Regions from separate parts of the Homo sapiens genome. Here all the other regions are linked to region 1. Evidence: promoter capture Hi-C in 16 types of primary human blood cells and fetal thymus (Javierre and others, 2016). All regions are on one chromosome and are shown on one strand. Each heading gives the region's core, a stretch centred on a gene start or on the middle of the fragment in contact. The rest is flanking DNA. Distances are from core to core; before and after follow the strand shown. Region 1 holds the start of TMEM130 (transmembrane protein 130). Region 2 overlaps BAIAP2L1 (BAR/IMD domain containing adaptor protein 2 like 1). Region 3 overlaps BAIAP2L1 (BAR/IMD domain containing adaptor protein 2 like 1). Region 4 overlaps ARPC1A (actin related protein 2/3 complex subunit 1A). Region 5 holds the start of BAIAP2L1 (BAR/IMD domain containing adaptor protein 2 like 1). Region 6 overlaps LOC105375421 (a long non-coding RNA gene). Region 7 has its middle 22 kb from the start of BAIAP2L1.

Evidence for each region. The method cuts DNA at HindIII sites, captures the fragments that hold promoters and counts their contacts. A CHiCAGO score of 5 or more calls a contact.
Region 2: a fragment that was not itself captured here is called in contact with the fragment with the promoter of TMEM130 in region 1 in 3 of 17 cell types (endothelial precursors, naive B cells and total B cells); the score reaches 7.6 in endothelial precursors.
Region 3: a fragment that was not itself captured here is called in contact with the fragment with the promoter of TMEM130 in region 1 in 1 of 17 cell types (endothelial precursors); the score reaches 7.3 in endothelial precursors.
Region 4: a contact is called between a fragment that was not itself captured here and the fragment with the promoter of TMEM130 in region 1, in 1 of 17 cell types (monocytes). The highest score is 5.7, in monocytes.
Region 5: a fragment that was not itself captured here is called in contact with the fragment with the promoter of TMEM130 in region 1 in 1 of 17 cell types (naive CD4 T cells); the score reaches 5.4 in naive CD4 T cells.
Region 6: a fragment that was not itself captured here is called in contact with the fragment with the promoter of TMEM130 in region 1 in 1 of 17 cell types (fetal thymus); the score reaches 6.0 in fetal thymus.
Region 7: a contact is called between a fragment that was not itself captured here and the fragment with the promoter of TMEM130 in region 1, in 16 of 17 cell types (M1 macrophages, M2 macrophages, naive CD8 T cells and 13 more). The highest score is 16.1, in M1 macrophages.

The regions. Positions count from the first base shown.
Region 1 is chr7:98,867,579-98,871,926 of GRCh38, forward strand. It overlaps TMEM130 (transmembrane protein 130), which reads right to left and starts at 2,436. Exons shown (of 8, transcript NM_152913.3): 1 at 2,199-2,436. The coding sequence starts at 2,283. RefSeq lists enhancers at 1,334-1,920, 1,921-2,506. The HindIII fragment of the contact is 4,583 bases long and covers 807-4,348 here.
Region 2 is chr7:98,362,258-98,366,605 of GRCh38, forward strand. It overlaps BAIAP2L1 (BAR/IMD domain containing adaptor protein 2 like 1), which reads right to left. Exons shown (of 14, transcript NM_018842.5): 2 at 100-175. Among named protein-coding and RNA genes, the nearest start is that of BAIAP2L1, 37 kb to the right of the region's middle. RefSeq lists an enhancer at 152-913. The HindIII fragment of the contact is 1,408 bases long and covers 1,433-2,840 here.
Region 3 is chr7:98,382,272-98,386,619 of GRCh38, forward strand. All of the region lies in intron 1 of BAIAP2L1 (BAR/IMD domain containing adaptor protein 2 like 1), which reads right to left. It also overlaps the pseudogene RPS3AP26. Among named protein-coding and RNA genes, the nearest start is that of BAIAP2L1, 17 kb to the right of the region's middle. The HindIII fragment of the contact is 4,374 bases long and covers 424-4,348 here.
Region 4 is chr7:99,344,040-99,348,387 of GRCh38, forward strand. ARPC1A (actin related protein 2/3 complex subunit 1A) reads left to right here. Exons shown (of 10, transcript NM_006409.4): 4 at 254-476. Among named protein-coding and RNA genes, the nearest start is that of ARPC1A, 20 kb to the left of the region's middle. The HindIII fragment of the contact is 1,192 bases long and covers 1,209-2,400 here.
Region 5 is chr7:98,399,910-98,404,257 of GRCh38, forward strand. BAIAP2L1 (BAR/IMD domain containing adaptor protein 2 like 1) reads right to left here and starts at 1,181. Exons shown (of 14, transcript NM_018842.5): 1 at 893-1,181. The coding sequence starts at 943. RefSeq lists a silencer at 855-1,514. The HindIII fragment of the contact is 976 bases long and covers 2,004-2,979 here.
Region 6 is chr7:99,318,435-99,322,782 of GRCh38, forward strand. It overlaps LOC105375421 (a long non-coding RNA gene), which reads right to left. Exons shown (of 4, transcript XR_927798.3): 2 at 803-1,010. Among named protein-coding and RNA genes, the nearest start is that of ARPC1A, 5.3 kb to the right of the region's middle. The HindIII fragment of the contact is 1,785 bases long and covers 871-2,655 here.
Region 7 is chr7:98,421,092-98,425,439 of GRCh38, forward strand. No RefSeq gene overlaps it. Among named protein-coding and RNA genes, the nearest start is that of BAIAP2L1, 22 kb to the left of the region's middle. The HindIII fragment of the contact is 9,559 bases long and covers 1-4,348 here.

The DNA.
Region 1 (4,348 bases), core at 1,186-3,685:
CGCATGTTATCACGCAGATCGGTTGCCAGGGGAATGGATCAGGAGGGCAGCCAGCTGGGACTGGGAGGGGGGATGGGGGGCAGGGAGGGGCTGTGTCTGCTGCAGACATTGCTGCAGACACTGGCCCAGCTCATGGGAGCCCGCCGACTCCCCCACCACCACCTGCCAGCTCCAAGGACACTTTTTCTCAGTCTGTTTTTTCAAAATCAGGTGTGTCACAGCCCCTGGGTGATGCTGCCCCTGTTCCTCAGGGGTCTCAGGGATGGCCAGGACATCCAGGGTGGAAATGGACCAGGAAGCCTTTGCCAAATGTGGCTGAAGGAACCAATCACAGGGCCTGGTGCTCTACCCACCAAATTCATCTTTCCAGGCCGGCGTGGTGGCTCACACCTGTAATCCCAGCACTTTGGGAGGCTGAGACAGGTGGATCACCTGAGGCCAGAGGTTCGAGACCAGCCTGGCCAACATGGCGAAGCCCTATCTCTACTAAAAATACAAAAATTAGCCAGGTGTGGTGGCAGGCGCCTGTAATCCCAGCTACTTGGGAGGCTGAGGCAGGAGAATTTCTTGAACCCAGAAGGTGGAGGTTGCAGTGAGCCAAGATTGTGCCACTGCACTCCAGCCTGGGTGACAGAGCAAGACTGCATCTCAAACAAACAAATTCATCTTTCCATGTTTGGGAGTCCATGTGACATGGAGTTGGGGTATGGAGCAGCCAAGGCAGAGGTTTAGGGGACTCCAAGGGCCCCCCAAGTCACCCAGAGCTCAAGGGGCAAAAGCAAAAAGAGATGGGGCACTCACCCCAAAGCTTGGCCCATGGAAGAAACACCTACCTTTTCCAGCAACACAGCATGTGCAGCCCTGAACATTCTAGAAAATGGCTACACCAGTCCTTTCACACAGAATATGCAGACTACCCAAAACACTTCCAAAGAGTACCTCTAAAGTCTGGATAACACAACCCAGAATTAATTAATAGTCCAGTACATGGACTTCTGACTTACAAATCCCTGATTCATGGACTCCAGAAAGGGGAAGGGTAGAAAAGTCTCCCCGACGGGTGAGGGAGAAGATGTTTCCCAACTCCACTCTTAGCCACTGTGATTTTGACCACATCAAGGGTGCAATTGGCTAGAATGGGAACCACACATGATTTCCAAATAATTAATTCACTTTTGTTATTATTTTCTTTTTCTTTTGCAATTTAGGACACATTGAAAATCTCTGACACAAATCAACCTGATGGACAAGAGACCCCTTTCCTGTATTTCCAGGAGGAAATAGGTAATCTTGTCCAAGTGCAATTCCCATAAAATTCGTCTAATTCATCCCTGAGTTGCAGGTTTTCTTTGACCTCATGGTTTTTCTTTCACAAATTTTCATTAGATCCCTTGCTCTCTCTCTCCACCGCTCTTTTATGAGGGGGGAGGGGGTGAAAAGTGGTGGATAGTATTCAACCTTCTTAGCTGCCCACGTCCCATCTGTCCCTCGAATAGTCTTAAATCTGGGTCCTTTTATGGTTCCCAAAATGTGGCAGAGAGGTGGGTGCTGGCTTTCTGGCGGTGGGGAAGTGGGGGCAGTAGACACACAACCCTGCTTCCCCCACTCCCCCACCCACACACACACCCCAGGAACCTGTCAGCTCCGGGTCCATTTTGGAAATCACCACCAGAGAGGAAATGGCAGCCTGGCCTCCTGGGCTCTAAATTCGCATCTCCCCAAAGCCAGCACCAACACGGTGGGAAACCCCTCTAGATGAGGCGACATTTTAAGGCAAAAACGTTGCCCATCCCGTGCTCCCTGGGGGACTGGGGAATTGTGGCGCGATGACGGACCCTGGCGCATCCCCGCCTCCCTGCCTCGTCCTCCCCTCCCTTAGCGGGTGCATGGTCCCCAGGCATCGACGGATGCGCCGGCCACCCCCGCGCGGTTTCCAGGGCAGGGCCAGCCTGGGGGGGTGGAAGCAGGAATCCAGGGGGTGCGGGGAGCCCCCTCCAGTGCCCAGGCGACTTTGGGGAACAAGGATGAAAGGAGAGGGGAAAGGGCGCTGCAGTGGCCTCAGCCGAGGAGGGAGATGCGCGCAGGGCGCACGGTGCCACCTCCGCAATCCCTGCTCCCGGGCCCACTCGCCCGCTGAGACGGTTCCAGGCCCCGGGCGGGCTGCGGCTGCAGGGAGGCCGGATTGCCCAGCGCCTTACCTGCGGCCACCCCTGCCGGGGCCCAGGGCAGGAGGCAGGCAAGCCAGAGGATGCGGCCGAGGCGCGACCACACTGCCTGGGCCATTGCGGGGCCCGGAGCGGGAGAAGCGTGGGGCGGACGCGGAGGGAATGCAGCTGGAGCTCGAGAACTGCGGCGGTCGCTCCTCCGGGCGCGCAGCGCGGGCGGTGCGGGGAGGTGCGGGCGCCGTGCTCGCTCGTCCTCGCCGGGGGACGCTCTGTCGCTGCGCGCCGCCGCCGCCGCCCACAGCCCGCTGCGCGACCCCGGCCCACGTCAGCCGCGCCGCGCGCCCTCCTCCTCCTCCCGCCGCCCCTTGCTCCCGCGTCCCTCTCCACGGCCGCGTCCTCCCTCTCCGGGTCTCTTCCCACGGCCGCGCCCCCTGCCCTCCTGGAGTCCACGATCGCCCCTCCCAGCTTGCTTCCCCTCTAGGGGTTCCAGAGCTCCCTTCCTGCGCCCTGGCTCCTCCCCGCATCCCTCCCCACCCCAAATCCACCCCCGGCCGCATCCTTCCCCTCCACTACCCGAAACCACGCCCCCCGCACCCGCATTTTTCCCTTCCCCCGAGCCCCTCCCCGCCCTGGATCCGATGCCGCCGGCTCTGACTCAGCGTCCCCAGGGGCGTGCGCTGCGCTGCAAGCCGCCTGCAGGTCCCTTGGGGCTCTCCTCCAGGTGCCTTCTCTCTGCACGCTCGTGGCTCCGAGATGCTACTCCTCATTCAAGAACTGTTGAGAGCTTAAGGTGCGCCAGGCGTTGGGCGAAAGGCCTCGAAATTCCTCTTGCTGCTGCTGCTGCTGCTGCTTCCTCTTTTCTTTTTTTTTTTTTTTTAATCTTGAGACAGAGTCTCGCTCTGTCCCAGAATGGCGCGATCTCGGCTCACTGCAACCTCCGCCTCCCGGGTTCAAGCGATTCTCCTGCCTCAGCCTCCCTAGTAAGATGGGATTACAGGTGCCCGCCACCAGGCCTGGCTAATTTTTGTATTTTTAGTAGAGACGGGGTTTCACCATGTTGGCCAGGTTGGTCTCAAACTCCTGGCCTCAAGTGATCCTCTCGCCTCAGCCTCCCAAAATGTTGGGATTACAGGTGTAAGCCACTGTGCCCAGCCTCTTGCCCCTTCTTGATAGAGGGGCCTGAGCACCCGGCCCCTGCCGTGGGCTTGATGTCATCCCCCGGTTTACCCTCTCACAGCTGCTGTTAAGATGGGGCTCCTGCTCGTATCTGGGCCCAGGGCAACTTCTTTGTCACTGAGGGCCTTGTGGGAGTCAGGCTACTGCGGTGAGGGGTGACCAGCCTACACAGTTACTGCCATTTGCCTTAGAGGAGCAGGGCTGGGCTCTCCTAGAAGCTGGAGGGGCCTGGCTGGCCTTAAACGCTGGAAGCCCGGTGGGTTCTGGTCCCAGCTATGCTTCCGCTTTGCTACGGCTACCTGGGCGAGGGATCCTCCCACACAGTGAGGGCCTTTGACCTCCTCTCTGGCCCGTGGAGCACGGATGGACCATCACTGCACCACCCAGTGCATTGACATCAAGGCGTCTAAAGCAGGGGTCTCCAAGCCCCTGGCCGCCAGTACCAGTCCATAGCCTGTTAGGAACTGGCTGCACAGCAGGAGGTGAGCAGGGCCTGTGAGCCACGCTGAGCTCCACCTCCTGGCAGATCAGCAGGGCATTAGATTCTCATAGGAGCGCAAACCCTACTGTGAACTGCTCACGTGAGGGATCAAGGTTGCGTGCTCCTTATGAGAATCTAATGCCTGATGTTCTGTCACTGTTTCCCATCATCCCCAGATGGGACCATCTAGTTGCAAGAAAGCAAGCTCAGGGCTCCCACTGATTCTACATGATGGTGAGTATGTAATCATAATAGAAATAAAGTATACAATAAAAGTAATGCGCTTGAATCATCCCGAAACCATCCCTCCAACCCCTCATTCGTGGAAACATTGTCTTTGGTGCCAAAAAGGTTGGGGACTACTGGTCTAAAGGGCCCCTGGCTCTGGGACAGCTGTGAGCTTCCCTAAGAATGGGCCCCACTGGCCCCACTGCTATGTTCAGGGAATGGAGGGAGAATAGATTTGAGTGAGCCCCTATGAAAAGTTAAAAGGGCTAGACAGGGCAGGGCATGGTGACTCACACCT
Region 2 (4,348 bases), core at 887-3,386, 510 kb before region 1:
CACTTAAAGGTATTTAAAAATTCAATACTAAGCATTTAAAAATAATTACATATTTACTGAGTGGCTTTATATATAATCAATTCAGAAAAACAGACTTACCGTTTACAGCTTTCTCATAATTTTTCCCCAGGTTTATTAAATTTCGCAGCCCAGGATTGAACTGTTCCATAACATTCTGCCAAACAAACAAAACACACAAATTAATAAAATAAAAAATAAACCAAGTCATCTTCAGATTTTGTCACTGTGTGGCCCAGGATAGCTATGGATGCCTAACAGCACAGTCTACAAAGTAATGAATGCTGATGTAAAAATAATGAAGCACACCTATTCCCTTACCTGATGGAACAGGGCTCACAGGTGGCAAGGTGCCCGTAACCCTGGCAGTTCTCAGTTGCCCAAGAGGCTGCCTGGAATCTGCTATAAGCGGAGCAGGCAGCAGTCATTCATGTCTCTACCATACCCTGCAGGGACTGTAGGCCTGGCATCCTCTTGGGTTTGAGTGGATTGCTAATGGTTCTCATTCTAGTGTTAAGGAACGCCTGTGGAGGATCAGCTACCTGTACTTACTTACAAAGGCAATGTTTCAAATAGATTTCGATGAATTTCTATCCACTGAATAGAAATTTCCAGGAGATTTTGTTTTTACTCTGCCTAATTATAGGGGTGTGGGCGGGGAGGGACGTGAAAGGGGGCATTGGTAGCATGTTGCTGATGGCCCCAGGACACAGGCCTGCCTGGAAACTTCTGGATGTCCCTGGCATTTTTTCTTTTTTTTTTTTTTTTTTTTTTTTTGAGACGGAGTCTCACTCTGTCATCCAGGCTGGAGTACAGTGGCACGATCTCAGCTCACTGCAACCTCCGCCTACTAGGTTCAAGCAATTCTCCTGCCCCTGCCTCCCGAGTAGCTGGGATTACAGGAGCCCACCACCACACCCAGCTAATTTTTATATTTTTAGTAGAGGCGGGGTTTCACCATGTTGGCCAGGCTGGTCTCGAACTCCTGACCTCAGGTTATCCGCGTACCTTGGCCTCCCAAAATGCTGGGATTACAGGCACGAGCCACTGCGCCCTGCCTCCCTGGCATTTTCCCACTGATTGGTTTATTCACCAAAGTTGTGTGGAGTAACTACCATGGGCCAGACCCTGTGCACACAGCTAAGGATTAGAAGGCACAGTTTCCCTCTCATGGATTTCATGGTGCAGCCAGTGTCCAGGTTTCATTTCAACACGTGTTATTCCTGTATCAGCAGAAAGTCATAAAGACAAATGCTAGGACAAGTATAAGACAAATAACTATTTAGGACGTGGGTCTAAATTTTAAAATACCCTAACTTTGAAGTACAGACAATAAGTCATTCCTACGGTACTCAGACTTCACGACTCACAACACGTGGCGATTGTTATGTGTTTGTTCCATCTAGGAACAATAAGCTTCATGATATTAATCACCCCAAAGAGACCATTCAAGTCTCACCGACCCCTTCCCCAAATGCATGCTCCATTTATATAGACGACCAGATGCAAAAAAGAATGAACAACTACCCAACATTCAAAGAGGCAGGTGCTTTACACACATACCCTTCAGAATAAATGAATCAGGAGGAGAGAGAGAATAGGACGACTCTTGTTTTTAATCAAACTGTGATAACAATGAAAAACAACCCATGCCTCGACCTTTCCATAGCCCTGGTCTTATGCCCGAGAGCACTTTCAACTATGCTCCTATTTTTGTATTTATTGCTGCAGTTTTGAATATTCTTTTTTTTTTTAAATATTCTTGATTTCTTGATTTTGGGGAGTAACTGCAGCTTCCTACGACAGCAGATGAGGCCTCAGGTCTCTATACCTCTCACTCTTCCTTTCCAATGGACTTTCTATGCAATTAGATGGCAATTTGCTGATGAAACTATAGTCAGTGTTCATTATGACTTTGCACTAAGGCTGATGGTTCCCTTTCTCAGTAAAGCCTGGCTGTTTTTCCTGGGATGGACAATTGTTTCTTTCCGCCCCGCCACCTTTGCTTAGTTTTCTGTTTATCTACCTTAAACTTGTCCCCATGCTGTATTAGACTTGGCTGAGGCCTATCAGTGTTATTTTTCAAATGTACAAAACTCTCAGCTAATCTCCTGTTCCGTTTTTCCCTTGACTTCCTCTAAGGACTCTCCACCATCTTGCTCAGTGTGGCTTGACTGTCACGATTGCCCTAGCATGGCCCTCCTGGTGGCCTGTGGCAGCGCTCTTGTCAGCCAGGTAGGTCCACGTCTTCCTATTTCTCCAAAATGGAGATCACATTCCAAAAATGATCTAAGAACTAATGCGTGAGAGGTAAATCTGAGTCCCCGTGTGTCTGAAATTATCTTTACCTTGACGTTTGCTATTTTGCTGAGTAGAGCAGAGTAGATTGAAACTATTTTCCTTAGAATTTTTAAGACATCACTTGGTCAGGCGTGATGGCTCATGCTTGTAATCCCAGAACTTTGGGAGGCTGAAGTGGGAGGATCACCACTTGAGCCCAGGAGTTTGCGACCAACCTGGACAACATATCGAGACTCCCATCGCTACAAAAAATAAAAACAATTAGCCAAGGGTGGTGGCTTGTGGCTGTGGTCCCAGCTACTTGGGAGGCTGAGGTGAGAGGATCACTTGAGCCCAGGAGTTTGAGGCTGCAGTTAGTTGTGACTGCACCACTTCACTCCAATTTGGGTGACAGAGTGAGGATATGTCTCAAAAAAAAAAAAAAAAAAAAAAAAAAAAAAAAAGAGCTATTACTCCACTGTCTTTAGCATCTGGGTCTGCTGAAGTCAGCTGCCATTTCTTCCTATGTGACTTTTTTTTAAAGCTTATTTCTGGAAGCCTTCTCTTTATTCCTGTGTTCTGAAATTGCACCATGGTCTGTCCCAGCATTTTTTTTGTTTGTTTTTCATTTATTTTACCGGACACTCAGTGGGACCCCTAGCCATGTGGAAAATTATGTCCTTCAGGTACAAATATCATTCCTGTTTTATTTCTTGTCTCTTCATTCTTTCTGGAACTCTGATGAAGATTTTATATATCCTGGATTTATTCTCTAATCTTTTTTGATTTTCCACTTTCAGTAGTTTTGTTCTATAACGCTAACAGATATCCTCAACTTTATGTTCCAATTCTATTTTTTGAATTTGATATATCTTAATTTCTAAGAGCATGTTCATGTTTCTTGATTGCTCTTTTTGTTTTGGTTTGGTTTTTGAGATGGAGTTTCACTCCGTTGCCCAGGATGGAGTGCAGTGGTGTGATCCTGGCTCACTACAACCTCGGCCTCCCAGGCTCAAGTGATCCTCGTGCCCCAACCTCCCAAGTAGCTGCGGGGGGTGGATCACAGGCATGCGCCACCACGCCTGGCTAATTTTTTGTATTTTTGGTAGAGACAGGGTTTTGCCATGTTGCCCAGACTGGTCTAAAACTCCTGAGCTCAAGCAATCTGCCCGCCCTGGCCTCCCAAAGTGCTGGGATTACAGGTGTGAGCCACCACGCCCAGCCTTTTGATTGCTTCTTTTTAAAAGTACTCTCCTGTTCTTGTTTTATAGATGCAGTATCTTCTCCTGTCTGAATTTTTTGGTGTGTTTTATTCTAGTTCCCGTATCATCTCCTGATTACCTTTCACTGTTTGATATCCCTGTCTTTCATGTTAGAGACTCTCCTCAAACGTGTGGTGATCCCTGATGGCCAGTTTGTATTGAGGCGTGCAGCCCGTCACTGCCGGCTGGAAGCTGTGGGTGTGTGCACAGGGTAGTGGCTGACTTGCTGGCTTCATTCCAAGCCAATGGCCACTCTACAGTCATCAGGGGCCACTGGGCTTCTGCTGAGAAGTTTCTAATTTCCTGTCATTGGGTGGGGGACAATCATCGGATGGTCAGCTTTCGCAGTCAGGAAGGGGGCCGGGACTGGACAGTTTGGAGCTGATTTTCAGGAACTCCTCTGTTTTCAGCTCAGAGTTCTGCCTCCTCCACCCTTGGCTGCTGTTTCCAAGTCTAGAGCACCTCAGATTATCCTGAGGTTAAATCTCTGCTCTGCCAGAGGGAGCTGCTGGTGGTGGTGGCTGGGGTAGGGAAGGGAAGCCAGGAGCTCCGCCACCCTGTGCACCAGACTCCGATTCCTGCCCCCACCTTCTGCGGCCCAGTCCTCAGCCTCTGGGGCCCCTGGGGTGAATGGCTCAGTTTCCATCAGACTCCTTTCCCCAGGTTCTTCAGGCTCTCTGAGGTCACTGAGCACTCTCTGTCCATTTCCTATCACCCCAGATTTCTTTAGGTCTCTTGTCAATGGATGTTTTCCAGGTCTTTTTGCACTGTGGATTTATTGGGTATTG
Region 3 (4,348 bases), core at 1,361-3,860, 490 kb before region 1:
AATGTACAGGAAAACTGAGCTCAGCCCATCTGAGAAGGTAACTTGAAGGAAAAAATAATGGTCTTTAACCTAGTTCAAGATTAGAAAATTTCAGCCAGGTACAGTGGCTCACGCCTGTAATCCCAGCACTTTGGGAAGCCAAGGCAGGAGGATTGCTTGAGGCCAGGAGTTTGAAACCAGCCTAAGCAACACAGGGAGACTGTGTCTCTACAAAAAATAAAATTTAAAAAAAGACTAGAAAATTTCATTCTATTTTAATTACTAGACAAAGGTTTTACATTTGCCTATGAATGGAATGGTTCAAAATCACTTTCCTTTGTAGTTTAAGTGTGGATGATTATACTGGGTTTAAGGTCCACAGATACCATAACTCTATATAGTTATGTTTATTTCTTGGCAATGCCAGGAAAGCGTTCAGGTTGAAGCTTTGGCAATTAGCAAGCTATCAAACTTTGGAACAATGTCTCGTCCACACCGGCCTCCATCAGATGAGGGATTGTGGAACCCTGCCCCAGAATTCAAGCAGGTTTTAAATTCTGAACTTCATAGGGAATAAGTAATGCCTATAAGACTGAAGTAAAAATCATTTCTTCAAATTCCTACTAGGATAATACCAGTATCCACGTTTGCTTTGTTCTTAGAGGTACATGTTCTTATTTGAAAGAATGAAACCTGAGGTCAGGAGTTCGAGACCAGCCTGACCAACATGGCGAAACCCTGTCTCTACTAAAAATACAAAAAATTAGCCAAGCATGGTAGCACGTGCCTGTAATCCCAGCTACTTGGGAGGGTGAGGCAGGAGAATCACTTGAACCCAGGAGGCGGAGGCTGCAATGAGCTGAGATGGCGCCACCACACTCCAGCCTGGGCAAGAGACCAAGACTCTGTCTCAAAGTATCAAAAAAGAAACAAACAAACAAAAAAAAGAAAAGAAAAGAAAGAATGGAAACACAATCCTTCCTATTCTAAGCTGCTATACCAAGATGACTACCATGTAATATAACTTTCAATCTTTTTTTTTTTTTTTTTCAGACAGAATTTCCTTCTTGTTGACCAGGCTGGAGTGCAATGGTGCGATCTTGGCTCACCACAACCTCTGCTTCCCTGGTTCAAGCGATTCTCCTGCCTCAGCCTCCCGAGCAGCTGGGATTCCAGGCATGCGCCACCACGCTTGGCTAATTATTTTTGTATTTTTAGTAGAGACGGGGTTTCTCCATGTTGGTCAGGCTGGTCTCGAACTCCAGACCTCAGGTGATCCACCCACCTCGGCCTCCCAAAGTGCTGGGATTACAGGCGTGAGCCACTGCGCCCGGCCATAACTTTCAGTCTTAAAAGTAACATTTCAACCAGAATCTGAAAATGTGCCTCTTTTCTGGGATCTCCTCTTTGTGTAAGTTTGTGCATGTGTGGGAGAGACAGAGAAGTAACATGTGAATGTGTGTACTTACGTTTCATTCCACCAACTCTGTAAAGTCTCACATTTCAGGCTTTCAAACACATAAAAATCTACACATTTCTGCAACATTTATTATTATGCCTACGTTGAGCCCACCCCATCCTGGACCCAGGAAACACAAAGATGAATGAAGAAAGAGCTCCAGGCCGGGTGTGGTGGCTCACGCCTGTAATCCCAGCATTTTGGGAGGCTGAGGCGGGCAGATCACCTGAGGTCAGGAGTTTGAGACCAGCCTGGCCAACAAGGTGAAACCCTGTCTCTACTAAAAATACAAAAATTAGCTGGGCGTGGTGGCACGTGCCTGTAATCCCAGCTACTCAGGAGGCTGAGGCAGGAGAATCACGTGAACCTGGGAGGCGGAGATTGCAGTGAGCCGAGATCGCACCATTGCAATCCAGCCTGGGCAACAAGAGTGAAACTCCGTCTCAGAAAAAAAAAAAAAAAAGAAAGAGCTCCAGTCCTTGGAAATGTACCGTCTTACACGGAAACAGGTACAAAGAAATACCAAGGCAATTCACAGAGACGTGGTGAAAATAAGAAATGCAAACACCTGAAATATTACGTTATCATTTAGAAATATAAAACTACAGATAAATGGCATGTATTAAGGACCAGTAACTGATTAGTTACTGATTCTGAAATAGCTGTTAAAAGATACATACTTTGAAGACCACAGAGTATACTAGGCTGTTTGACTAAGTGCTCTTGCCTGCCTAGTTACTGTTTTTAAAAGGTGTGTCCTGGAATAAAAAAGCAATCAATAAATTTACAGGAAAGGACATCTTATGCACTGGGTTACGTTGTTTAGAAAGCCCCAGAGCACTGAACAGGTAACAGGAACTTTATCGGATCAAAGTACACTGACTTACTGCACTAGTTCTTTCCAAATGCTACTTTTATAGTAGTATCTGGAATCATTCTAGCTAACTTCCTTCAACCAGACTCTGTGAGACAGATCATTCTACCTTTTTTTTTTTTTTTTTTTTGTGAGATGGAGTCTCGCTCTGTTGCCCAGGCTGGAGCGTAGGTGGCACGATCTCGGCTCACTGCAACCTCGGCCTCCCAGGTTCAAGCGATTCTCCTGCCTCAGCCTCCCAAGTAGCTGGGTTTACAGGTGCCCGCCACCACGCCTGGGTAATGTTTGTATTTTTAGTAAAGATGGGATTTTGCCATGTTGGCCAGGCTGGTGCTGAACTCCCGAACTCAGGTGATCCAACCACCTTGGCCACCCAAAGTGCTGGGATTACAGGCATGAGCCACGGCAATCAACCTCATTCTATTGTCTTAAAATCGCAGCTGGGTGGGTGCAGTGGTTCATGCCTATAATTCCAGCACTCTGGGAGGCTGAAGTGGGCAGATCACTTGAGGCCAGGAATTCAAGACCAGCCTGGCCAACATGGTGAAACCCCATCTCTACTAAAAATACAAAAATTAGCCAGGCATGGTGGCAGGGACCTGTAATCCCAGCTACTCAGGAGGCAGAGGTGGGAGGATTATTTGAACCCAGGAGGCGGAGGCTGCAGTGAGCCAAGACTGTGCCAACTGCACTCCAGCCTGGGTGACAGAGCGAGATTCTGTCTCAAATAAAATAAAATTGCGGCCTTTGCGATCTGAGGAATTGTTCAAAAACTCCAAATGATTTAAAAACAGTTTAAATTCTTTACTTTTATTTCTCAGATACCAGTAAGGGGAAATCATTTCTTTTTCTTTTGAGACAGGTTCTTGCTGTGTTGCCCAGGCTGGAGTGCAGTGGCGCAATCTCTGCTCACTGCAGCCTCGACCTCCCGGACTCAAGCGATTCAGCCTCCAGAGTAGCTGGGATTACAGCCACACGCCCCCATGCCCAGTTAATTTTTTTGTTTTTTTCGTAGACATGGGGTTTCACTATGTTGTCCAGGCTGGTCTCGAACTCCTGACCTCAAGCAAGCTGCCTGCTTCAGCCTCCCAAAGTGCTGGGATTATAGGCAGGAGCCCCCACACCCAGCCAGGAATCAACATTTCTTTTTTTTGTTGTTTTTTTTTTCACAAATAGCACTCTTTATTTGCCACTATTTGAAGTCTGAACTTTAAACAGATTCTTGGACTGGTGGTTCATATCCATCAGCTCGTTCAACTTTAGCACCTGTCTCGTCCCCAGTGGCTTTTCCAGAACTACTGCCTTCACCATGAAGCTCCATGAGCTTTCCCAATTCAAACTTGGGCTTCTTCAGCATTTTTACTTTTCTAACGAAGACATCATGGAGAGGATAAATAGACTGGCAAGCCTTTTCTATGTCTTTTCCAATGCTGTCTGGAATCAATTTATTGACCACTTCTTTCAAGTCATTTGTCTGCACCTCTCGGGTCATGATTTCGATCATCTTCTTCCGGATTTGGCGGACCTGTTGGTGCTGAGCATAAGAGGTCTTCCGTATCTGATTGTTGCGTTTTTTAGTAAAACCAACACAGAACAGACGAAGCAAGTAACCATCGGTAGTCTTGACATCAACGTGAGCTTCAATCATTGTCTGCCATTTTTTGACCATGGAACACATTTTGTCACGGGTAAGATCCATGCCATGGAAGTTAGGCAGTTTTTACCCTGAACATCTTCAGTAATCAGCCTGAATTTTCTAAATGCAACTTCATCATTCTGCAAATCAGCAAGACTCACTTCAAACACACGACCCTTGAGACCATCAGATGCAATTTTGGTTCCTTGGGTCCTGGTGACGAGCGTCTTTCCAATATTTCTTATACTGAACATAGCAGGTGCTTTCACATCATACCAATCTTTCTTAGAAAATGGATCAACCACTTTCTTCTTGGCTCCCTTTTTGCCGCCTTTCGTAAGGCGCTTGTTCTTGCCAACCGCCATGGTGCTGGTCAGAGAGCCAAAAGCAGGAATCAACA
Region 4 (4,348 bases), core at 555-3,054, 480 kb after region 1:
TGTAAAGTCTGTAATTATAAAACAGCTCTTCTACATGACCTCATAGACAATCCCGAGTCCCAGACGCTTTGCAGAGAAGCATCCTTGCCTTTCCTTGAGGCGGTGATCAGGACATAGATAGTGGGAAGGATGTGCCTGGGAGGAAGGTCCCAAGACCACGTCTCATCCTGGCATGCCAGTGCCACCCACCTGCCTGTGCCGCAGTTGTTTGTCATTGACTGGGCAAAGCAGATGACCCATGTCTCACTTGCAGGTATTGACTGGGCTCCCAAGAGCGACCGCATTGTCACTTGTGGGGCAGACCGCAATGCCTATGTCTGGAGTCAGAAAGATGGTGTTTGGAAGCCAACCCTGGTGATCCTGAGAATTAATCGCGCAGCTACTTTTGTGAAGTGGTCCCCCCTAGAGAACAAATTTGCTGTGGGAAGTGGAGCACGACTCATTTCTGTTTGTTACTTTGAGTCTGAAAATGACTGGTGAGTGACATCTGAATTTTTTCTATCCCTCTCTATAGAATTTACATTTGCACTGCTGTGTGAGGGCTCACCATAACTCCAGTTTTTCTCATCCGGAGTTGTGTGGTTTTTTCTCTGAAATTCTCGATTCTGTCTGAGCATTTTCCCTTCTCATGTGCATGTTAAGTTAAATCGCACGTTTTTTATATTAACATAGAGCTATTGTGTCCATGTTCTGATCGCCTAACTTGTTTCTTCTGCAAGATGCTATTACTGTTCTCACTCTATACTGCGCAAATTGCTGTTTTCTTACTCTCATTTACAAATAATAACATTGAAAGAGTCTCCGTTCCCTGAGGAATATTTTTTCTTTTTTTTTTTTTTTCACAGGATATCTATGTAGGATTCCTACAGATAACAATGTTCTTTTTTTTTTTTTTTTTTTTTTTTTTTTTGAGACAGAGTCTTACTCTGTTGCCCAGGCTGGATGGAGCGCAGTGACACGATCATGGCTCACTGCAACGTCCGCCCCCTGGTTCAAGCAATTCTCCTGCCTCAGCCTCCTGAGTAGCTGGGATTACAGTCACCTGCCATCGTGCCCGGCTAATTTTTGTAGTTTTAGTAGAGACAAGGTTTCACCATCTTGGCCAGGCTGGTCATGAACTCCTGACCTCATGATCCACCGCCTCGGCCTCCCAAAGTGCTGGGATTACAGGCGTGAGCCACCACGCCTGGTCAATGTTCCTTCTTTAAAGCTTATTTGCCAACCAAATCTGTGTCTTGGTGTAATATTTTACTTGTTTAAACTGTTGAAGTCAAAACTCACCAGAATCTTAGAAGTCTAATCAGCTATTGCACATTTTTTAAATTACTTCTTGCTGACCCAGTCAAAACACAGGTTTATTTTATGGCCAAAACTTATTTTAACTACTCCTTCCTGTTTGTTTTGATAAGGAAACAATTATTCTCCAGCCTGGCCAAGATGGTGAAACCCCATCTCTACTAAAAATACAAAAATTAGCCAGGCACAGTGGCAGGTACCTGTAATCCCACCTACTTGGGAGGAAGCAGGAGAATTACTTGAACTCGGAGGGCAGAGGTTGCAGTGAGCCAAGATCGTGCCACTGCACTCCAGCCTGGGCGGCAAAGTGAGATTCTATCTCAAAAAAAAAAAAAATTATTTTTCTGTGTGGCATGTGTTCAGCATGACTGGTAAATATCCTTCAACGTAAAGTTGTCATTTACTACTAAACTGGCAGTGTTTGTGTTTCTACTAAAAATAGCAGAGTATACATGACTCTTTGTAGCTGTTTTGTTATTTGTATTCTGCTGAAATTGAAAGAAGGGGATTATCATGTTACCTTTGTAATTTAGTAAAACTTCAGAAATTTTATTCTTCAAAAAGAGATTGGGAATTTGCGGTAAAATTGAGTTATGGGCCAGGTACAGTGGCTCATGCCTGTAACCCCAGCACTTTGGGAGGCCGAGGCAGGTGGATCACCTGAGGTCAGGAGTTCGAGACCAGCCTGACCAACACGGATAAACCCTGTCTCTACTAAAAATACAAAAAAATTAACGGGGTGTGGTGGTGCATGCCTGTAATCCCAGCTACCTGGGAGGCTGAGGCAGGAGAATCTCTTGAACCCAGTAGGCAGAGGTTGCGGTGAGCCGAGATCACGCCATTGCACTCCAGCCTGGGCATCAAGAGTGAAACTCCGTCTCAAAAAAAAAAAAAAAAATTGAGTTACGAATTTGAAACATACATTTTTCTTTCAAATGTGAAATCAAGGCTAACAAAATGTTACCTGCTAGAAACTATTTGGAAGTTTCATTGTAATGAGATAGGAAACTAACTTCATTAATATTCTCTCAAGGCTAAACTTTATGTCAGCTGGTACTCCTTGCAATCTTACAAATTTCTACAGGAAACTTTTCTTCCAAGTTAAGCTTCAACCTCAGTAATTGTTTACATTTTTATTCGTTGAGAATTAGTGTCAAGTATAGGTAAATTGGACTTTATTATGGTACAAGGTATTGTCTTTGAACAAGCTGTATGTTTAGGGCAGTTTCTCAGCTGTAGAACAATTATTTCATATTTCATAGGAGTACTTTAAAACAACTTCTCAGAAGTTTATAATTCAGCCATATGAACTAATTATTTTGCTTGCCATCTTTTCCTTAATTAAAAAAATTACATTATAAAGGCCAGGCACGGTAGCTCACGCCTGCAATCCCAGCACTTTGCGAGGCCAAGGCAGGCGGATCACGAAGTCAAGAGTTCGAAACCATCCTGGCCAACATGGAGAAACCCCATCTCTACTAAAAATACAAAATATTAGCCAGGTGTGGTGGTGCATGCCTATAATCCCAGCTACTTGGGAGTCTGAGGCAGGAGAATCGCTTGAACCAGGGAGGTAGAGGTTGCAATGAGCCGAGACCATGCCACTGCACTCCAGCCTGGGCAACAGAGCAAGACTCTGTCTCAAAAAATATGTATACATTATGAAACAATTCGAAATACTGTCTTTTTCTCCTTTTTTAGAGACTTTGTGGGGGATTTTGGTTTTTTATTTTATTTATTTATTTATTTTTTGAGACAGGGTTTCTCTCTGTCACCCAGTCTGGAGTACAGTGGTACAAACACGGCTCACTGCAGTCTCCAACTCCTGGGATCCAGCAGTCTTGCCACTTCAGCCTCCCAAGTAGTTGGGACTACAGGTTTGCACCACCACACCTGGCTAATTTTTTGATTACTTGTGGAGACAGGTTCTCACTTTTCTTGCCCAGGCTGATCTCAAATTCCTGTACTCAAGCAATCCTTCTGCTTTGGTCTTCCAAAGTGCTGGGAGTATAGTTGCAAGCCTCTGCACCTGGCTGTCTTTTTCAGAATGAACTTCTTCAGACAGGATACTAAGAAAGTGATTCTGTAGCCAGGCGTGGTGGCTCATGCCTGTAATCCTAGCACTTTGGGAGGCTAAGGCAGGCAGATCACCTGAGACCAGGAGTTTGAGACCAGCCTGGCCAACATGGTGAAAGCTAATCTCCTCTAAAATTACAAAAATTAGCCGGGCGTGGTGGCGTGAGCCTATAATCCCAGCTATCGGGAGGCTGAGGCACAAGAATTGCTTGAACACAGGAGGCAGAGGTTGCAGTGAGCTGACATTGCGCCACTGCACTCCAGCCTGGATGACAGAGTAAGACTCTGTCTCAAAAAAATAAAAAATAAATAAATAAAAGAAAGTGATTCTTGCTTGACCCCGGGAGGTGGAGGTTGCGGTGAGCTGAGATCACGCCATTGCACTCCAGCCTGGACAACAAGAGCGAAACTCCATCTCAAAAAAAAAAAAAAAAGAAAGAAAGTGATTCTATAGAAAGGTAATTTAGCATTGAAGGAAAGGCATTGGCTCAATATTTAGTCTCCCAACTGTTGAGCAACCAGACGTGATTGGTTTTTAAACAGCAGTTTGGGGGCAGAAATGAATTAGTTAAGCCAAAATACTGACTGGTCCTAGACATAAATCATCTTTTTTGGATGGTGCTAGCGAATTAGAGGCTAATCCCCAACATGAGGTTCTTCTAATTTCTTGGTTGTGATTTTTCAGTGAAAGAAATTAAAAAGAATTTGCAGATTCGTGGAGACTTGGGAAGGATATTAAGCTGTCTTACAACCCCAAATTCACCAAAAATTCAGCAAATCACTGAATATTCATAATAAAAATTGAAGTATTTTCAAACTTCAGTTTTTATCTCAGAGGTTAACGTCCTATGTAATCCGAAATCTCACGAAAACATAACTGAGTTAATCAATATCTATGCTTACTAATGAGGACTGCTGAAAACCAGCTGTTGTGCTGAGAACATCAGGGCCAGGAGTGGAGAAGGCCTGTTCATGG
Region 5 (4,348 bases), core at 1,242-3,741, 470 kb before region 1:
ACTGAAAGGTGGGAGAGGAAGGGTCTAAGGAGGAGGGCGTTTCCCGGGAGAACGCCCAGAGCTCGGCTCACCTGGCGATCCTAATTACAGGGGAGTTTCACCCCCACATTCTTGGGCGCTTTCTTTTCTTAGAGGAAACTCGAGCTTGTGTCTTTGGTCCCGGAGGGCTTAAGCCCGGCAGCCAGGACAGCACGGGTCACTGATTCCAAGAAGTTGGGAGGAGGACGTGGGCCCCACCGACGCACAACAGACCCCTCCCCAACTTAAGTGCACTAGTTGTAAAATGTGTAGCTGGTCAGGGGATGGGGGGTGGTCTCCAGAGCTCTGAGGGTCAGGGAAGAGGAGAAGGGACGGGGAGGAGAAGGGACAGGGGAGGCGGAGAAGGGCCAGGAGAGGAGGGGGAGACACACGGGGAAGGAGGAAGAACCAAGAGGAGGGGGAGGGGGAGGGGGAGGGAGGGGGATAGACTGGGGAGAAGAAGGGACAGGGGAGGAGGGGGAGACACACGGGGGAGAAGGAAGAACCAGGAGGAGGGGAGGGACAGTGTCGAGGGGCAGGGGAGGAGGGAGAGTGAACGGGGAGCGGAGGGGCAGAGGGAGAGGTACAGCGGGGCGGGAAAGAGAGACAGGGAAGAAGCACAGGGAGGAGGGGAGGGAAGGAGGAGGAAAAGTAGGGGGGAGGGGATGGGGAGGGACTGGGAGGAAGGAGAGGGCCAGGGGAGGAAGAAGAGGGGCTGTGGAGGGCCAGGGGAGGAGTGGGAGAGACCGGGAGAGGTGGAAGGACGCGGGGGAGGGGAGCTGGAGGGAGGGAAAGTACCTTCCCGCGTAAAGTCCCCTTCTGAACCCCGAGGTGGAAAGCCCTGACCTCCCTGAGCCCCGGGCCCTGGGCTTACCCGGTAGGTGCTCTCCGTGAGCCGGTTCACCTCCTCGGGCCCCCGGGACATGGCTGCGGCCGCCGGGCGAGCAAGCGCGGGAGGACGCGGCTGGGCCTCGTGGCCGCCGGACTCCGGGCAGCGGGAGGGCCGGGGCGCGACTAAGGGGCTCTGGAGGGTCGGCCGCCGCCGCAGCCGTCGGCCCGAGAGTGCCCGCGCGCGTCTCCGCTGCGAAAATGTCAAAACTTGCGGCAGCGCCGCCCTGGCCTTCTTCGAGGAGCAGAGGAGAAGCGGCCGGACGCCGCCAGAGGAAGCTGGGCGGGCCGGGCGGCCCCACCTGAGGCGGGCGGGGCAGACGGGGGCGGGGCCGCAGGGCCGGAGGGGCGTGGCGTACCCACCTGAGGCGGCCTGGTGAGCGGGGCCCGGCCGGGGTGGGCGGGGAGGAGGCGGGGCCAGGCAGCTGGAATGGGCGTGGCCAGAGGGAAGCGGGCCCCCCGAGTGGGCGGGGTCACCCCACCTGTGGCGGACAGGGCAGCGAGGCCACGGTGCGCCCCCTCGCGGCTCTCCCAGAGCTCCGGCGACGTAGGGCCCGAGACCCTGGAGTGGGGACCGGTGTGGAGTGGGCTGCTCGCTTTGCTGTTTTGCTAGGGCAAGGGCAGCCTGGGGGTGTTTAGACTGTGGTCCTGGAGCCCTTGTTTGCCTCGCGTGGTGCTGGCCCCGGGGACCCCGAGGCCCACTTCCTCCATGAGGGCTTCCTTCAAGCCCTGCGTTTTGGGGACCAAGGGAAGGGGCCACATTCCCCAGTTGTATTGATTTCCCTGATTGATCTCTTCTTGCCCCGCCGCTCACTGACCCCAAAAGTTAGAGGGACCCGTGGGGGCATCGGCCCTCCTAGGTGGAGAAAACGGGCTGCCACTTGCAGTTTTGAAAGCTCCTGATATATCAAAAAATTAATAAATGCCAGGGTCTAGTTACCGAAATGTTAGTACTTTTTTTTTTTTGAGATGGAGTCTCACTCTGTCGCCTAGGCTGGAGTGCAGTGGTGCGATCTCAGCTTGCTGCAACCTCCGCTTCCCAGGTTCAAGCGATTCTCCTGCCTGGCATGAGCCATCCTGCCTGGCCCCCAGATAGAAGCTTTTTGTTTGTTTTTGAGACAGAGTTTCACTCTTGTCCCCTCAGGCTGGAGTGCAGTGGTGCTCTCTCAGCTTGCTGCAATCTCTGCCCCCCAGGTTTAAGCAATTCTCCTGCCTCAGCCTCTCGAGTAGCTGAGATTACAGGTGCACGTGCCACCAAGCCAGGCTAATTTTTTTGTATTTTTAGTAGAGACGGGGTTTCACCATGTTGGCCAGGTTGGTCCCGAGCTCCTAACCTCAGGTGATCCGCCCTGCTCAGCCTCCCAAAGTGCTGGGATTACAGGCTTGAACCACCGCGCCCGGCCCAGTAGTACATTTTTAAACTTTACATTAACAACGACCTTTAACTCAATGCAGTGTAACCATGCTACTCACGAGATTGTTGTAGGGTTTAGAAAACCACCTGAGCTGAAGTGTTAGGGAAGCCTCTCTTCTTGTCATCACTCAAACTCTGTGGAGGTGTGTGGCTCCTGGGCTCCCTATTTTGTCTCCATCCCGGCCTCAGCCCTGCCCAAGGGTGAGGCAGCTGCCTTCTTTGGGCCTCTCTTCCAGGATTATGTACCTTGGGCTGGGTGACAGCCTTCTCCCCAGTAAGAACCACCATTTAGCTACCTGAGACCCGCACCCAACAAGGGCAGAGGTCTTATTCTGATTTTTTAAAACCTCTGGGCTTGGTGGCTCATGCCTGTAATCCTAGCACTTTGGGAGGCCAAGGCAGGCGGATCACTTGAGGTCAGGAGTTCGAGACCAGCCTAGCCAACATGGTGAAACCGCCCTGCCCCCGTCTCTACTAAAAATACAAAAATTAGCCAGGCATGGTAGCACGTGCACCTGTAATCTCAGCTACTCGGGAGGCTGAGGCAGGAGAATTGCTTAAACCTGGGAGGCAGAGATTGCAGTGAGCTGAGATAGCACCACTGCACTCCAGCCTGAGGGACAAGAGCGAAACTCTGTCTCAAAAACAAACAAACAAAAAGCTTCTATCTGGGGGCCAGGCAGGATGGCTCATGCCTGTAATCCGAGCACTTCGGGAGACCAAGGCAGGAGGACTGGTTGAGTCTAGGAGTTCGAGGCCAGCCTAGGCAATATAGGGAGCCCACCCCCATCTCTGCAAAAAATATAATTAAAAACATTAGCCAAGTGTGATAGTGTGCATCTGTAGTCCCAGCTATTCCGGAGGCTGAGGTAGGAGGATGGCTTGAGCCCAAGAGGTTGCAGTGAGCTGTGATGGTGCCACTGCATTCCAGCTTGGGCCACAGAGTGAGACTCTGTTTCAAAAAACAAACAAAAATGCCAAAACGTCTATGTGAGTGCAATTGCATCTTTTATGGGCTGTTAAGATGTGAGACTTCTGGCCAGGCGCAGTGGCTCACGCCTGTAATGCCAGCACTTTAGGAGACTGAGGCAGGCAGATCACCTGAGGTCAGGAGTTTGAGACCAGCCTGACCAACATGGAGAAACCCCGTCTATACTAAAAATACAACATTGACCAGGTTTGATGGTGCATGCCTAAATCCCAGCTACTCAGCAGGCTGAGGCAGGAGAATCACTTGAACCTGGGAGGCTGAGGTTGTGGTGAGTGAGATCACGCCATTGCACTCCAGCCTGGGCAACAAGAGCGAAAATTTGTCTCAAAAAAAAAAAAAAAAGAAAAAGAAAAGAAAAGAAAAAAGAAAGATGTGAGACTTCTAAACTAATCTTGTGATAAAGTTCACTAGGAAATATACACAATGAAGGCACTGTGTGGCCCAGATGGGAACATCAAGAGGGTGAGTACCACTGGACTTAGAACAGAAACCACCACCTGGACTTGGGGACTGTTTTATTGGGTTTTGCAAACTATAAAACACATCATGCAGCTAGGCACAGCGGCTCACGCCTGTAATCCCAGCACTTTGGGAGGCCAAGGTGGGTGGATCACTTGGGGTCAGGAGTTAGAGATCAGCCTCACCAATATGGTGAAGCCCCGTCTCTACTAAAAATACAAAAATTAGCCGGGTGTGGTGGCAGGCACCTGTAGTCCCAGCTACTCGGGAGGCTGAGACAGGAGAAGCGCTTGAACCCGGGAGGCGGAGGTTACAGTGAGCCGGGATCTCATGCCACTGCACTGCAGCCTGGGCAAGAGAGTGAGACTCTGTCTCAAAACAAACAAGCAAACAAAAAAAACTTACCATTCTTGGGAACCAAAATGTTATGTCTTCCTGATGTTAGGGGGAAATAACACATCAGTCCCAAGTTTCTGGCAATGGAAGCAGGTGCCTTCTTCTTTAACAGATTTACAGTATTTAGTTCATGAGGTTTGCCAACTGGGTTTCACTTCCCATATGGGAGATGCATTCATGAC
Region 6 (4,348 bases), core at 513-3,012, 450 kb after region 1:
ATAATAGTGAGTTAAAGATAGATAATTAAATGCAACAAGATTTAGCAAACTGAAATGGACAAATGGGATTTTTTTTTTAATGGCTACTTGCCGAATGATTCTGATAATGGAGCACTGGGGCAACAGACAACCCTCCCATTAGTGATAATTAGAAAAGTGGGCAAAATATACAAAATATCTACTCAAAGATAAGAGAGCACTAATGAGGTAGTAAATACCTACCAGGTCAATGTCCAAGAGAACAGAGTATGTAAGAGAGTGAGCCCATCAGCAGGACTGTTTTACCCCAAGGGCTACTTGGTGATTCCAGAACAGGTGGCTGAGAGCCTAAGCAGTACTTGTTTTGTTTTTTTTTGTTTTTTTTTGAGAAGGAGTCTCACTCTGTCGCCCAGGCTGGAGTGCAATGGTGCCATCTCAGCTCACTGCAACCTCCACTTCCCAGGTTCAAGAGATTCTCCTGCCTCAGCCTCTGGAGTAGCTGGAATTACAGGTGTGCGCCACCACGCCCAGCTAATTTTTGTATTTTCAGTAGATACAGGGTTTCACCATGTTGGCCAGGCTGGTCTTGAACTCCTGATCTCAGGTGATCCGCCCACCTCGACCTCCCAAAGTGCTGGGATGACAGGTGTGAGCCACCACATCCAGCCCTAAGCAGTACTTTTGACAGCCTTTCAGGAGTCTGGGGCCCTCCAAGGTTGGGGAGTCTTAGGAAATACCTGTTATACTAGTCAGGATTCTTCAGAGAAACAGAACAAATAGGAGATATTAGATAGAGATATAAAGAGATGGAAAATTGACTCACACAATTATGAAGGCTGGCAAGTCCAAAATCTGCAGAGCCAGTGTCCCAGTTCAAATCTGAAGGCTGGAAGCTTCTGCAGAACCAGAAAAGGCCAATGTTCTAGTTCAAAGGACTCACTTGAACCCAGGGTTTGAGGCTATAGTAGCTATGATCACACCTGTGAATAGCCACTGCACTCCACCCTGGGCAACACAGCAAGACCCCATCTCTAAAAAAAAAAAAAAGAAACACTGAGGTGAAGATCTGTTCCAGATCAGACTAAAGAAACAAAAATTAAGTGCAACAATTGATCTTGGATTGGCTCCAGGATTGAGAAAAAAAAAAGCCATCAGGAAGGAGAATATTCTCTTACTCAGGAGAGGGTCAGCCTTTTGTTCTATTCAAGTCTTCAACTGATTGGATGAGGCCCACCCACATTAGGGAGGCCAATCTGCTTTATTCAATCTACTGATCTAAAAGTCAACCTCACCCAAAAGTATCCTCACAGAAACACCCAGAATCCTGTTTGACCAAATATCTGGGCACCCTGTGGCCTAGTCAAGTTGACACATAAAATGATCCAAGTGTGACATAATAAGAAATATAGGCCGGGCACAGTGGCTCACACCTGTAATCCCAGCACTTTGGGAGGCCAAGGTGGATCACTTGAGGTCAGGCGTTCGAGACCATCCTGGCCGACATGGAGAAATCCCATCTCTACTAAAAATACAAAAAATTAGCTGGGCATGATGACACATGCCTATAGTCCCACCTACTCGGGAGGCTAAGGCAAGAGAATCGCTTGAACCTGGGAGGCGGACGTTGCAATGAGCCGAGATCACGCCACTGCACTCCAGCCTGGGCGACAGAGCGAGACTCCATCTCAAAAAACAAAAAAAGAAATATCTATTTTGTTTCTGACACAGAGCTTTTAAAATTGTTATACTACCCTGTATAACAGGGGTGAGAGGAACATCTTTTTTTTTTTTTTGAGACAGTCTCATTGTATCCCCCAGGCTGGAGTGCAGTGGGGTGATCTCGGCTCACTGCAACCTCTGCATCTCCAGTTCAAGCGATTCTCCTGCCTCAGCTTCCCGAGTAGCTGGGATTACAGGTGCCTGCCACCACGCCAGGCTAATCTTTGTATTTTTAGCAGAGACAGGGTTTTGCCGGGTGAGCCAGGCTAGTCTCGAATGCCTGACCTCAGGTGATCCACCCACCTCAGCCTCCCAAAGTGCCTGGATTACAGGCTGTGAACCACCGTGCCCAGCCTAACCTCTTTTGTTATAATATTTGGTCTTAGCTCCCAGTTCCTCACGTAGGAGCTTTTAAGCCCCTTGGAATCTCTGGAGTGGTAAGTGTCTTTTTGTATGCTAATGAGATGTCTGGTGGATGAGGGTGCTAGATGGTTCCAGAAAGAAACTAATTGCCAGAGGAACCAACTCTGTGATTAGAGGGTAGGAATTTTCAGTCCCACCCCTCCACCTCCAGGGATGAGAGGAGCTGGAGATTTATTTCAATTACCAATGGCCAGTGATTTAATCAATCATGCCTACATTATAGAACATCCATAAAAACCTTAAATGATGAGGTTTGGAGAGCATCTGGGTTAGAGAACACGTGGTGGTGCTGGGAGGGTGGTGTGCCCAGAGGATATGGAAGCTCTGTGTCCCTTCCCACACACCTTGTACTTGTCCATCAGTAACTGAAACATCTTTTGTTATAATATTTGGTCTTAGCTCCCAGTTCCTCACACAGGAGCTTTTAAGACCTTTGCAATCTCTGGAGTGATAAGTGTGTCTCTCTATGCTAATGAAATGACTGGTGGATGAGGGTGCTAGATGGCTCCAGAATGATTTTATTAAAATAATCTAAGCTTGCATAACATGGAAAAATGTGTCGGTAACAAAATGTCTAAGTGGCTCTGGCCTTGAGGAGATTTACAGGTTCATGGGTTACAGATTTCACTTATTAAATTAGGTAAGTAACACAGGGAATTCCCAAGTCTGCTTGTATGATTGTCTTACAAGTATGGTATTTGCGATAATATGCTATTTATACACACCACCTGAGACTACCCTGTGCCCCTAGACATCCCGTGACTGGTCCCATCTCTGTCCTATGGAAATGAACTGAGTGAGCAGTGGAAAAATCCACATGCACTTTTCAGTTCACCTGTATTGAACTCTACAAAATCCTTTCCATAGGAAGTTTTCCTCACTGGGAACATACCCAGCAATTAGGACAATATCTAAAGCATAAGGATTATTGTTAACTAATAACACACAATATGCATTAATAGTTTTGTCCTTTTGTTTGTTTATAGCTTTTATTGGCATTGATTCAGTATTTCCAACAGTTTTTTTGGTGACTAGATGGCAGGCATTATTGGAAGATCTGCAGTAATTGTTCACCATTTCAGCTGTTGGCACAACAAGCAAGAAACAATCTTCTTACTCTCCAACTCCACATTCCAGTTATTAAATCAAGCTCTCCTGAGAAGGAAATCCTTACGCCTTTACAAACATGTAACCTTCCTAAACTATGATGGATTATGTTCCTGATGTGTCTATATAAGCCCCACCTTCCATTCTCAACTAGCAGTAACCTCTGTGTCCTTTGACATCCAAATTGTTTTCTTTCATTCATTTGCACTTTCATTCAACGAATGTTAACCAGGACCTTCCAGATTCAAGGTATTGTGCATTTCCTTTTATTTAAAATTATTTTAGCAGCATCCCTGGTCTAAAAATAAGATAAAATATTTTGTGGACTGGTCATATCCTAATCTCTAAGTTACTTGAGAACAGAAGGATCTTACTCTACTCTTATTAACACAATAGTTGGCACTTGGTGAGTATTTATTAAATATTTGATGCCTTGAATCTTGACCAAATTCTAATTCAACTCAATTCCAATTCCAATCCAATCAGCAAAGCAAACAAAATCAGCCCACGGTAGTGTCCAACCCCTCCCTCTCTTCCATTGCCCACTTCTAAGTACCACCTTCCCTGGCACTAATTGTTAAGTCTAATTAGGGAAAAGGAGTCAGGATGGTGGGAGCAGGGGGAAGCAAAAAGAAGCAGGTAAACTACAAGTCTGCCATTCTTTATGGTCCAGACACACAGCCCTCCTCTGCAAATAACTCACAATCTTCCTGCGCCCAACAATTACAGCATAAACACTATTCCATAAAATCCCCAGCAAGCCTTTCTTTGCAGTTGGCTGCTCTTCTGCTGATTCTGCCTGTTGCCTTCTCGTACCTTCCTACTTTCTCTAACAAATCTGCCTTTATCTACAACTGTCTTGGTAAATCCTTTTACCCACGTACCACCAGCCCAGACAGCTGCCCCTCACCCATGATACTAATCTTTTAAAAGGTTGAGTCTGCATTTTGGATACTACATCACACATGCCTTAAAAACAAACATTAAAAGTAACTCACCCTCCTTAGAACCCTGATGGTTGGCTTTTATAGCAGGGCACGATGGTATAACCAGTAAGGCCAGAGCAGGTGGCCAGCCCCCCAACCCTCCCTGCCTTGTATCAAAACCCTCAGGTTTCAGG
Region 7 (4,348 bases), core at 938-3,437, 450 kb before region 1:
GAACTGGAGTCCGTCAAACCTTCCTGAGCCCTAGCGGTAGCCTGGGAGTCAGGAGGGGCAGGTGTGTGGGGAGCTGCGCTGACTGCCCACTGCGTCCACTAGATGGCGCGCTGGCTGCACAGGTAAGCGCGTCGCACCTTCCCTGAGTGGGTCCAGCTTTCGGGAATCACCTGCCGGTATAGCCAGCACCTGTTAGCTGATCCCCGCCCCAGGTCTGCTGCATAGACGAGGAGACTGAGGCACGAACAGGTGAAATGACTCAACTGTTATCTTTTTTTTTTTTTTCTGAGACAGAGTCTCACCCTGTTTCCGAGGCTAGGGTACTGTAACGCAATCACAACTCACTACGGCCTCATCCTCCTGGGCTCAAGCAATCCTCCCACCTCGGCCTCTCGAGTAGGTGGGATCATAGGTGTGCATCATCATACCCAACTAATTAAACACTTTTTTTTTTTTCCAGACAGGATCTCTGTTGCTGGAGTGCAGGGGCACGATCTCGGCTCGCTGCAGCCTCCGCCTCCCGGTTCAAACGATTCTCGTGCCTCAGTCTCTCAAGTACTGGGATTACAGGCGTGCACCACCAACCCCGGCGAATTTTTGTATTTTTAATAGAGATGGGGTTTCACCATGTTGGCCAGGATGGTCTTGAGCTCCTGGCCTCAACTGAGCCTCCCGCCATGGCCTCCCAAAGTGCTGAGACTGCAGGCATGAGCCACCACACCCAGCTAATTTTTGTATTTTTAGTAGAGACAAGGTTTCACCACGTTGGCCAGGCTGGTCTTGAACTTCTGGCCTCAAGTGATCCACTCATCTTGGCCTCCCAAAGTGGATCACTTGTTTCTGATCTGTTTTAGAGGTATCTTTGAGAGCCTGGTGAACGTTACAAGACCCCTTCTTAAAAATTTTTTTGAAATCAATTTCATGGGCTTCAAGAACACCACAGGAATAGATTAAGAACATGTCCTTCATGTTTGCAGTGTATATGTTTAATTGGGCTTTGGCCAGAGGCAGTGGCTCACGCCTGTAATCCCAGCACTTTGGGAAGCTAAGGCAGGAGGATCGCTTGAACCCAGCAGATTGAGATCAGCCTGGGCAACATAGCAAGACCCTGTCTCTAACAACCCCCGCCCCGCCCCCCACCCAAAATTAGCCAGGTGTGGTGGTGCGTGCCTGTAGTCCCAGCTACTCAGGAGGCTGAGGTGGGAGGATCCACTGAGCCCAAGAGGCTGAGGTTGCAGTGAGCCATGATCACACCACTACACTCCAACCTGGGTGACAGAGCGAGACCTTGTCTCAAAAAGAAAAAAAAAAGGAGTTTACATTAGCTCTTAACTTTCAATTCCAGATGTGAATATAATAATGTAATCCATCCACTTACTAAAAAAAATATTTACTGAGCACCTCCTATGTGCTAGGCACTGTTCTAGGTGCTGGGGATACTTGCTTTTGTGTAGTTTACCTTTTAAAGGGGGAAGACAAGTGATAAAAATGGACAAACTGTAGTAGTCATTAGTGCTGTTCTCTAAATATTTCAAATACTCCCCCTTCTTGGTACATGGTAGGATTTTTAATTTTTCTTTAATTAGTAGAAAATTTTTTTTGGCTGGGCATGGTGGCTCAGCTCATGCCTGTAATCCCAGCACTTTGGGAGGCCAAGGCAGGTGGGCCACCTGAGGTCAGGAGTTCGAGACTAGCCTGGTCAATATGGTAGACTAAAAACACACAAAAAAATAGCTGGGCATGGACCTTTAGTCCCAGCTACTTGGGAGGCTTAGGCAGGAGGATCACTTGAACCTGGGAAGCGGAGGTTGCAGTGAGCCAAGATTGTGCCATTGCACTCCAGCCTGGGCACTGCAGCGAGACTCCACCTAAAAAAACAAAAAACAAACAAACAAACAAAAAAACTGCAAACAACAACAAAAAAAAACACCAAACAAAAAAACCCACAAATTTTTAAATTTTCTTTTCTTTTTTTTTTTTTTTTTTTAAGTAGTGGTGAGGCCTTGCTATGTTGCTCAGGCTAGTCTTGAATTCCTGAGCCCAAGCGATCCTCCTACCTTGGCCTCCCAAAATTCTGGGATTACAGGCTTGAGCCATGGAGCCCAGTCATGGTACAATTTTACTTCCTGCTTCTCTTATGGTTGGCTGAAATCATGTGACCAGTTCTGGCCAATGAATTGTGAGGAGTGGTGATGCCATACTTCAGGGCTGAGCGTTTAATTGCTGGTGAGAGGCCCCCTAGAGCTTTCCCTCTGCCCCAGGCATGAGAACTGGAAATATTTAAAATGAAGTCTGTTTAATCAGTATAGATCCCTGAGTCATGAAGCATGAGTGAGAAATAAACATTTTTTTACATCACTGAGATTTTGGGGTTTGCAGTGTATGTTACAGCAGTATAACCTGGCCTGTTCTGACTGATGCAACAATAAGAAGATCATAGAATTTTATAGATTGCTAGGAGATTAGAGCAATGGAGAAAAGAAAATGTTGAGCAGGATCAATGGTATTGCTGGGGACTAGGTGTGGTGGCTCATGCCTGTAATCCCAGCACTTTGGGAGGCTGAGGCAGGAGGATTGCTTGAGCTCAGGAATTCAAGACCAGCCTGGACAACATAGCAAGGCCCCATCTCTAACAAAACCCAAAAATAACCGGGCATGGTGGTGTGCACCTGTGGTCCCAGCTACTCAGGAGCCTGAGGTAGGAGGACGGCTTGAGCCAGGAAGGCTGAGGCTGCAGTAAGCTGTGTTTGAGCCACTGCACTCCAGCCTGGGCAACAGAGCAAGACCCTGTCTCAAAAAAAAAAAAAAAAGGGACGGAAAGGGTGGAGGGGAAGGAAGATGGAATGGTGAAGATGTGATCAAGGTGGGCTTCTTTGAGAAAGTAATATTTGAAAAGGAAGAAGGCAGTAAGCTGTGCAGGTACCTGGCGTGAAGGGGGTCCCAGGCAGGGGAGCAGCCAGGGATACACCAAAGGTTGGAGGTGTGTCTGATGTATTCCAGGAAGATCAAGCGGGTGGTGGGTGAACCAGGTGAGAAGTGAGGTCAGAGAAATAAGAGGGGCCAGGTCATGTGGAGCCTCATGGCCACGGGAGGATGTCACCATGTTTTCGGCGTGAACTTGGGAACCATGGTAGGGATTGGAACCCAAACATGACATGATATGATTTATTTATTTATTCATCCTGAGACAGAGTTTCGCTTTTTTTGCCCAGGCTGGAGTACAATGGCATGATCTTGGCTCACTGCAACCTTCTCCTCCCGGGTTCAAGCCATTCTCCTGCTTCAGCCTCCCAAGTAGCTGGGATTACAGGCATGCGCCACCATGACCGGCTAATTTTATATTTTTAGTAGAGATGGGGTTTCTCCGTGTTGGTCAGGCTGCTCTTGAACTCCCGACCTCAGGTGATGCACCCGCCTCGGCCTCCCAAAGTGCTGGGATTACAGGTGTGAGCCACTGCGCCTAGCCTGACATATGATTTATGTTTGTAAAGGATCTCTCTGACATCTGGGGAGAGATAGACAGCATGCAGGGGTGGGGCAGGATGGAAGGATGGAAGTTGGGGGGCACTTGTATATTTCAGGAGACAGCAATCTGTGGCTCACACTGGGCAGTGACAGCAGAGGTGGGGACAAGTGTCCAGGTGGACAGATCCTGGATATTTTATTTTGTTTATTTCATTTGTTTATTTCCAAGGCAGGGTCTCTCCCTGTCACCCAGGCTGGAGTGCAGGTGGGGCAATCACAGCTCACTGCAGTCTCGACCTCCTTGGCTCAAGCGATCCTCCCACTTCAGCCTCCCCAGTAGCTGGGACCACAGGCACACGCCACCATGCCTGGCTAATTTCTAAATTTTCTTGTAGAGATGAGAGGGGAGTCTCACTATGTTGCCCAGGCTGGTCTCAAAATCCTGGCCTCAAGGGATCCTCCCACCTTAGCCTCCCAAAGCACTGGAATTATACGCTTGAGCTACCACACCTGGCCTTATAATTTCAAGATAGAACCAATACTATTTCATGATAGATTCAATGAAGGATGGGAGAGATTCAAGGCTTTTGGCCCCATCCTTCCAAGAAGGATGAAATTGCTGTCAACTGAAGCGTGGGGGAGGTTACAGATGGAGTGGGTTTCATGGGGGGAAGATCAGAGTTGGTTTTGGCCGTGTTGAGTTTAAAATGTCTATTGGACCCCAAGTGGAGGCATGTGGGTGGCTGTTGGATGTATGAGTCTGGAGTCAGGAGAATATAAATTTGGGAGTTGTTGATGGAAAGATGGTATCAACAGTTTAATGTCTTAAAACACTCTTCTCTATAAGCCAGGAACAGAAAGTTAAACACCGCATGTTCTCACT